Regions from separate parts of the Homo sapiens genome. Here region 1 is linked to region 2. Evidence: promoter capture Hi-C in 16 types of primary human blood cells and fetal thymus (Javierre and others, 2016). All regions are on one chromosome and are shown on one strand. Each heading gives the region's core, a stretch centred on a gene start or on the middle of the fragment in contact. The rest is flanking DNA. Distances are from core to core; before and after follow the strand shown.

Region 1 (3,931 bases), core at 1,281-3,780, 2.1 Mb before region 2:
CAAGACATAGAACTTACCATATTTTGGTGTTGATTTTGATTGTTTTAAATTAATATCTATGTATATGTTTAGTTATATCTTGAAGGTAATTTTATACCTTGATTTTATGTTGATCACAGAATTTTAATGCTTTTTGTTATTGACTAATATGAATAATACTGTAAACTTTTTTTTATTATAAGAAGTCCTCCCATCCTTTGGTTTATTTCATTCTGACAGAAGTGCATTTTACTGGGCCATGGAAATGAACATTTTCATTACGTCATATTACATTTTCTTTATATGCCAAATTAATTATTAGATTGTAATGACCTTAGGAGCAAATGACCATGATGCTAAAGATTAGAAGGCGAAATGGATATTGGGTTGCAAAGAATTTAGGAAAAAAAGATGAATATGATCAGAAGTCAGAGACTGTAAAAGGGAATATGGCTTCAGTGAACCTGGAAGTCCTTTAAAATGAAATTCTGATATGTAAGAAATCTTTCCAGTGAGGAACAAAGTGATATAGTGCTATACAAAGTATTTTTTGTGGGCTGAGATTGTAAAAAGAAATGTGCAAAAGATGGAAGGAGGGACACTGGCTGAGTACCAGGACTGAAGAGGAGGAAAATCCTACTTTTACCAGGAGGTGCAAAGCCCAGAAAATTTCTGGCTTGGAAAAGATGCCAAAGAGAGCAAGAGAAGATATTGTTGTGGAAGGATAAGACAAACGAGCAGGAAATAGACCCCCAGTGGGAATCAATTACTCCAAGGCAGTTGGTTTTACTCAAGTCTTAAGCCCCATTTCATCTCTTTTTCTTCCATTGAGGAGAATGGCCTTTAAACTGGAAAGGATGCAGCAGCCTCAATGCCGTAAGAACAAAACCCTAGGGAGAATGAGTCTTGGGAAATAGGATGGTCTGTGCCAAGATCAATGACAATTCTGTTCCACTGCTCTCAGCAGTATATTGGAAGAATTACGGAGACTCAGGCGGGTGATTGTGGAGGTACCCAAATTATATTCAGATTTTCACAAAAGTAATTCCTGATCCTTGTGGTTCCCTCTTAGTGGCAATGTGAAGTAACAGCCTAGAATGGATTGATGAAGTTTGTAAAGAGGAATAGGAACATTTATCAGTATCTGCTGGTAACAGCAGGTTTATTGTAAAATGGTAACATTCTAGGAACACAAGGTACCTGAATTGGGTCTTCAACCAACATTCCTTAAGATATCTCTGAAGGCAAATAGGTTCACAGAGAACAAAGCTGGCAAAGAAACAGCTTTTTGATGAAACTGGGCCTTCAACCTCCTACCCCCATGTTAAACTCTGGGGAGTTAGGCTAAGAAATCCCTTTTGCTTAACTAGGAGGAAGAAGAATGCAAGAGGGCATTTCCCCTTAAAAGAAGTCCTTAAAAATGCTGACTCAGTCGGGCATCCCAGTCCTTAGTAAGGTGGAGGCCTCCCAGCAGAACTCTTTCTTGGGGTTTGGGAGGAGGATTCAGAAGGGAACCAGTGGAAGCCCCAGAGAGAGGCTGTGGCCAGAGGGAGCACCCTGACCCCCTAGTCCACTTGCCCTGGGAAGCTTGTCCAGAGAAAAACCCTGTGCACAGGAACAGCATCAGCCCATTTTCAGTTGTGTAACAAATAACTGGAAATCTCAGTGGTTCTCTACAACAGATATTTATCTCGTATGTGGCTTTGTAGGTCAACCAAGGTTTGGTTTCTCTTGGTTAGCTCCAGTTCTGAAGGTTCTGGTGTGCTCCTTGTCTCTTCCTTCCAGGATCCAGGCTGAAGCAGCAATGGCTGTCTTGGGCAAGTCCTTCCCATGGCTGGAAGGTGGGCTCTAAGTCACATGCCTACACCCAAAGTCATCCGGGCGGCGATGTGTGTACCCTGCCTAGTCTAGTGGGAGGTGCTGGAAAATCACATGGCAGAAGGTGCAGATAATGTAATTCTGTTGGAAGAAGTAGAGTTTGGACAGTCTACCATGTTGGCCTTTAATCACTTTTAAAGACGTACTCCCAGGGGCTGTGGCCTCTGGGAATTTGTCTTTTGTATGTAACTCCTCCTCTTCTATGTGGGTCTTCGGGGGATAGGTAGTGGAGACTATGTCATTACCTTGGCTGATCATATCCTGGGGGTTTGGTTGATGAGTTACTTAATATCTATAGACAAAATAATATGGCTGCTTAAAAATTATTTTAACCCTTGATTGTACTAATGGTACTATAGCTTAGTAATAATGACAGTGATGATTATAATAATTTCAATCAAGGGAGGCAACAATACCTCTGTATCCTGTACTGCTGGAGCCACATCTCAGCACGGTAGCCTGTTTTGGTGGCTCGAGAAGGGCAATCCAAACTGCACTGTGTTCAGTGGCGGGTCGCCAGGTTGCTGCTGTATAGGAAACCCAGCTAGATTTGGAAGGAGGCCAGTGACTGCAGTGAGAAAAGCAGACGGGACTGTTGTGAGGCATAGACGTTGAACTTGCATCAGACTCTCTGGATCATCGTGTCTAGATGGCTCTGCAACCAGCACTTGTCTGTCGGAGACAGTTTAGCGTGTGACCGCTGGGGGTGAGCGACTAAACCTCATGGTCTCTTGGGATTCCAGCATTCACGCTGCCTGTGCCAATAGAGGAATCTTCAAACTCTTTATTGGCTTCTCTCTCCCTCATCTAAAGTGAAATAAAGTCGTCTTTGAAATGGATTGGAAGAAGAAATAATTTGCCTACATTTCCCAAAAGTGGATATTCACTGGTGGAAATGTCTGCAGTTATCTGGGGGTGGATCTTTGTCATGGACGGCCATTAGCATCTCCTTGGGAAACTGTCTCTGAACACAAAACATCTCCAGTTTTGTAGATCAGTTTTGACAGACTAACTGCATGTGAATTTCAGAGCCCCAGTTTGTACCTATTTGCCATCCTTTTCTGAAATTCTAGTAGACAAGCATGGAATAAATGGGGAAAAAAAAGATGAGCCTTTTCTCTCCCCTGTATTCCATGTGTTTCTTTGGGAATGGAGAGGATTTATTTTTCAATTAGGAGATTTCATATGAATTAAAGGATTTTTTTTTTCGTTAAAATTTCATTGTATTGTTCCTAGCTCAAACTTGGCTAGAACATAATGATACTATTATTTCCCATTGGAAAGGTTAACTGGATATTGTATCTTCAGCCTGTTTTGATGGGAGGTGGTGTTTATTGAGACAGTCACAAATCGAAAATATTTTTAAAAAATGTAGTCTGTCATTTTGGTGCGATTTCTTTTCTCAAAAACATGAAATTGACAAGTAAAAATTTTATATATTTATGGTGTACAACATGATGTTTTGATATGTTACATTGTGGAATGGCTAAATCCAGCAGTTTAACTTAGCATTATCTCACATATTTAAGCAAATGTTTTTAGGAGCAGTATTTTCTTGAAGTAAAATTAATATCAGCATGCTGAATTTTCAAACATCATGAAAATCTGAGTATTGATAACACCACCCAGTAAGCTTTGTCACGTCTCTGGCTTTCAGGTTGCAGATCTGAGCATGGGAGACCTGCTTTTGCACACTACCGTGATCTGGCTGAACCCGCCGGCCTCGCTGGGCAAGTGGAAAAAGGAACCAGAGTTGGCAGCATTCGGTGTGTATCAGAAAAGCGTTTTATGGAGGGGGAAAAGTCTAGCTTAGTTTTCAAAACAAGAACATTTCTTTTTCAAGACCCAATTGATTAAAAATAAAGTTAATTGCAGTTACTTGAATCGGTCTTCCTGCCGTAGCCACCAACATCTCACAAACACTAAATGAAACCTTCGAGTTAAATTGCCCTATGTGGTCACTCAGCCACATGGGTGGGCGGAAATGGCTGTGCCCAAGTCTATCCCAGACATAAACACAGAGGCAGGAAAAGAATTTTTTTTTTTTTGGCTGCTGCTCTGCGTGTCTTTTCAA
Region 2 (3,957 bases), core at 430-2,929:
ACTTCCCCAAAGGTCTTTTGTTTATGTGGGTTATAGGTATGAATATTTGCTATATTAGAAATTAAAACTGATAAATTTTTAACGTTATTTAAAAAATAATAATCCTATCACATGATAATATGTATGTTTTTATTTAAAATATCTCTATTTTCCAAGAATGAAAAGGGTGGCTGTATTAGTCCGTTCTCGAATCGCTATAAAGAACTACCTGAGACTGGGTAATTTATAAAGAAAAGAGGTTTAATTGGCTCACAGTTCCACAGGCGGTACAGGAAGCATGGCTGGGGAAGCCTCAGGAAGCTGACAATCAAGGTGGAAGGTGAAGGGGAAGCAGACACATCCTACAAGGCTGGAGGAGGAGGAAGAGACAGAGTGGGGAGGTGCCACACACTTTTAAACAACCAGGTCTTATGAGAAGTCACTCACTATCACAAGAACAGCTGGGGATTATAATTCCACATCATATTTGGGCAGGCAATTCAAACATATCAGTGGCATTTACATTTTTGCAAAAATCCAAACCATATCAGTGGCATTTACATTTTTGCAATTTTTTTTTTTTTTTGAGACAGGGCCTCACTCTTGCCCAGGCTGGAGTGCAGTGGCATGATCTCAGCTCACTGCTGCCTCAACCTCCCAGGCTCAAGCAGATCCTCCAACCTTAGCCTCCCAAGCAGCTGAGACTACAGGTGCATGCCACCAAGCCAAAGGGATTTATATTTATCTATAAATTCATATATAAATCAGATATATTTATATAAAATGTGTATATTATATATATAAATCAGATAAATAAATATGTATTTATATCTGATCTTAAAAGAGTAAAAGGGATTTATATTCCCAGGAAGAAGTAGAAAAGAGGAATATAGATAGTGGTTAAGAACCGGCATTTTGCAATAAGTCTGATCTAGATAGGAATTCTAGCTTTAATATTTACTAGCTCTGTGATCTTGGGAAAATTATTTACAGTTTGTGAACTTCAGTTTCCCTTCTACAAAATAGAGACAGTACCATTTAATTTTTAATTTTTAATGGTATCGTCTCCATTTTATGGAAGGAAAACTAAATGGTATTTTAACCGACAATTCATTAATTTTTAAGACTGACCATTAACAGAGATACTGCATGTAAAGCAGATCACACAGAATATGGCACACTTGAGCACTTGATGTGTACTACATTACTCTTAGTGACGACTTTAATTATCGTGCGCATTCCCAGCGCTTCCTATGGTGCCCAACACAGAGCGGACGCCTAGAGACAATTTTGGGGGATGGGGCAGATGCTCTGCCTCGGGAAAAAAAAAGCACACCTGCCCTGACGTTGGTGGCTGGGTCTGGAAGATACGTGGAAATTAAGCTAAGGATGTGTGGCTTCCAGATCAAAAACCGCAAAAATCTAACGCCGTGACTACTGACTACGGTCAGAGAGCACAGACTGGAGCAACCTCTCACGGCCTGGGCTGTCTGCGCGTGCGTGAGCCAGAAACCCGAGGGGCTCCCTGGGCCCGCCCTATCGATCGACCCGATCGGGGATCGTCAGCTTGGTTCTGGCCACAGAGGTTGCTCTTCTCGCGATGCTTCAGACCTGGCGGCAGGGAAAGGGTGGGCTAATTGGAGAGCCAGGAAGAGCGTGAGGCGGCCCCACGCTGCTTTCCCAGAAGGCTGTGCGTGCTCCTCGCTTCCTCCGCGGTCTTCCGAGCGGTCGCGTGAACTGCTTCCTGCAGGCTGGCCATGGCGCTTCACGTTCCCAAGGCTCCGGGCTTTGCCCAGATGCTCAAGGAGGGAGCGAAAGTAAGGGCTGAAGGAAAGGAATGAGGTGGGAGCGTCAGCATAGGGCTGCGGCGGCCGCGGCGAAGTAGGAGGGCCTACTAACGGGCTGAGCGTGCTGCCCTGGCTCAGCGGCCGGGGGAAGAGAAGATTCCAGAAAGGGAGGTGATTTTGGAAGGGCTCGGCCACCGGAGCCTGCGGGCACTTCTCTTCTTCCGCGACCGGGAGAAGGCCGAGGGATCGGCGGCACGATCGACATTGTACACCTTGAAGGTGGACGGATGTGAAGCCGCGCGTGCGTTTTGCCTCCATCCGTAAATGGGGCTAAGGCCCGTCACCCTTAAAGGAGGTTGTGAGGGTGAAATTGAATAACGTAGATGAAATTGTCTTGAGAACTGCGACGTCGATTATCACATAGCTCGCGAGTTGTAGGATGGGGAAGAACGAGAACTAGCCGATCCAGAGAAGAGAGTGGGAAAAAGGGCCGGGTCTTGGTTGCTTGCTTCCCAGTGAGAAACATACGGCTTTCAGCTTAGTTGACAGAAGCCATGCGTTGTAGCCAAATGAGTTCCGGTCCCAACTTATGTTAGCTGGCTTAATCTAAAATGTAACTTTCTTGGGTTTTGTTTCCTTCGTCTTTAAATTATGGAGATTGGACCAAGAGGTGGTGTCTTTGAGTTCTGTGTAATCTGCAGGATAAGTGATAGAGGGGTGCAGATAACACTTTTGTTTAATGGCCTTTTCTTGAACGTTAGTTCGGTAGCATAGTTTTAAAAAATATCTTACTGCACTATTGATAAATTTGTCTCTTGTGCTATTCAAATTGCATTCCTCTGTGTGTCCTCCAGATTTTGTTAATTCAAGAAATAGATCAGTGTGGTTGAATTTAAGGTTTTATGCGAGGTACGGGGAGCATTAACAGTTTAATAGAACTAGGTTCATGTTTGTAGGATGCACTTTTCAAATAATGTCGGTATAGTAAGTAAATGTCAGGGTTCAAGGTAAATGTTGGTGGAATAATCTTTTGAAAATGATATGGGCTGATTCCCTTGAAAAAATCAGGCTGAGATAATAGCTTCCAATTTGGGTTTTTTTCACTAATACAGTTTTGGAAAACTCGTGTATCACAAAACATTATTTGTCATTCCAGTGCTAGTAGTTTTTTACAGAACACTGAGCTATTTCTTTCAATAAATAGGTACTGAAGGAACTGCAGTGAAAGACAAAAGTCCCATTTGTCGTAGAGTTTATGTCCTTCTAAGGCAGAAATAATGATTAAATAAAAGGAGAATTCCAAATAATGATGAAAGAAACTGCACTATAGTAGAGGATGACAGGAGGTAAAAATGTCTGTAAAAGAAGGATCAGGAATAGACAGAACACTTAGACGTTTAGGGAAGAACTCTTAGCTCAGTGCTTAGTGAGAGAAGCCCCTGAGCCTGGGCTGTTTCCCCCGACCTCTTACTTAGGGGGAAATGCCAGGCTCAGGGACTAACTAGTACAAAGACCCTGAGGAAGGAATGATTTTGACCTGTTTTTTTTTTAAAACAACAACAACAACAACAGGTTGTAGGGCTGAAGCTTACCAAAGAAAGGAAGAATGGTAAGTTCAGAGGAGGAGCCATACAAGGGCCGGGATACGTAGGGCCTTGTTTCCTTGAAAAGGGATTTGCATTTTATCCTAAGCTGGTTGGGAAACCATTGAAGGGTCTTAAGTATGGGAATGAGGGGATCTGATCAAATGGTAGTTTCTCACAGAATGGGGAGTGAGGGGAAGAAGCAAGAGTGTAAGCCAGGAGTTCAGACTTAAGTGTTATTGCTGGAATAACAGTTCTTATTGCTGAAGATGCTTTTAAAGCAGTGGCTATTGGCAGGGGTTGGTGGCTCACACCTGTAATCCCAACACTGGGGAGGCCGAGGTCAGTGGATCACTTGAGGCCAGGAGTTCCTGGCCAACATGGTGAAACTCCGCCTCTCAAAAAAATACAAAAAAAACCAACCTGGTGTGGCGCGCACCTCTAATCCCAGCTACTCAGGAGGCTGAGCCTCCAGAATTGCTTGAACCCGGGAGGCCCAGGTTGCAGTGAGCTGAGATCGTGCCACGATCTCAGCTCACTGCACTCCAGCCTGAGCGATAGAGGAGACTCTCTCTCTCTCAAAAAAGAGTAATGGCTATTAACCTTGG

The links. The method cuts DNA at HindIII sites, captures the fragments that hold promoters and counts their contacts. A CHiCAGO score of 5 or more calls a contact.
Region 1: a fragment that was not itself captured here is called in contact with the fragment with the promoter of CCT8 in region 2 in 1 of 17 cell types (naive CD4 T cells); the score reaches 8.2 in naive CD4 T cells.

The regions. Positions count from the first base shown.
Region 1 is chr21:31,135,625-31,139,555 of GRCh38, reverse strand. TIAM1 (TIAM Rac1 associated GEF 1) reads left to right here. Exons shown (of 28, transcript NM_001353694.2): 23 at 3,515-3,623. Among named protein-coding and RNA genes, the nearest start is that of KRTAP19-8, 99 kb to the right of the region's middle. RefSeq lists an enhancer at 2,440-2,489. The HindIII fragment of the contact is 1,924 bases long and covers 1,569-3,492 here.
Region 2 is chr21:29,071,370-29,075,326 of GRCh38, reverse strand. CCT8 (chaperonin containing TCP1 subunit 8) reads left to right here and starts at 1,679. Exons shown (of 15, transcript NM_006585.4): 1 at 1,679-1,796. The coding sequence starts at 1,737. RefSeq lists enhancers at 1,454-1,623, 784-1,695, 2,074-2,243, 1,696-2,607. The HindIII fragment of the contact is 10,437 bases long and covers 1-3,355 here.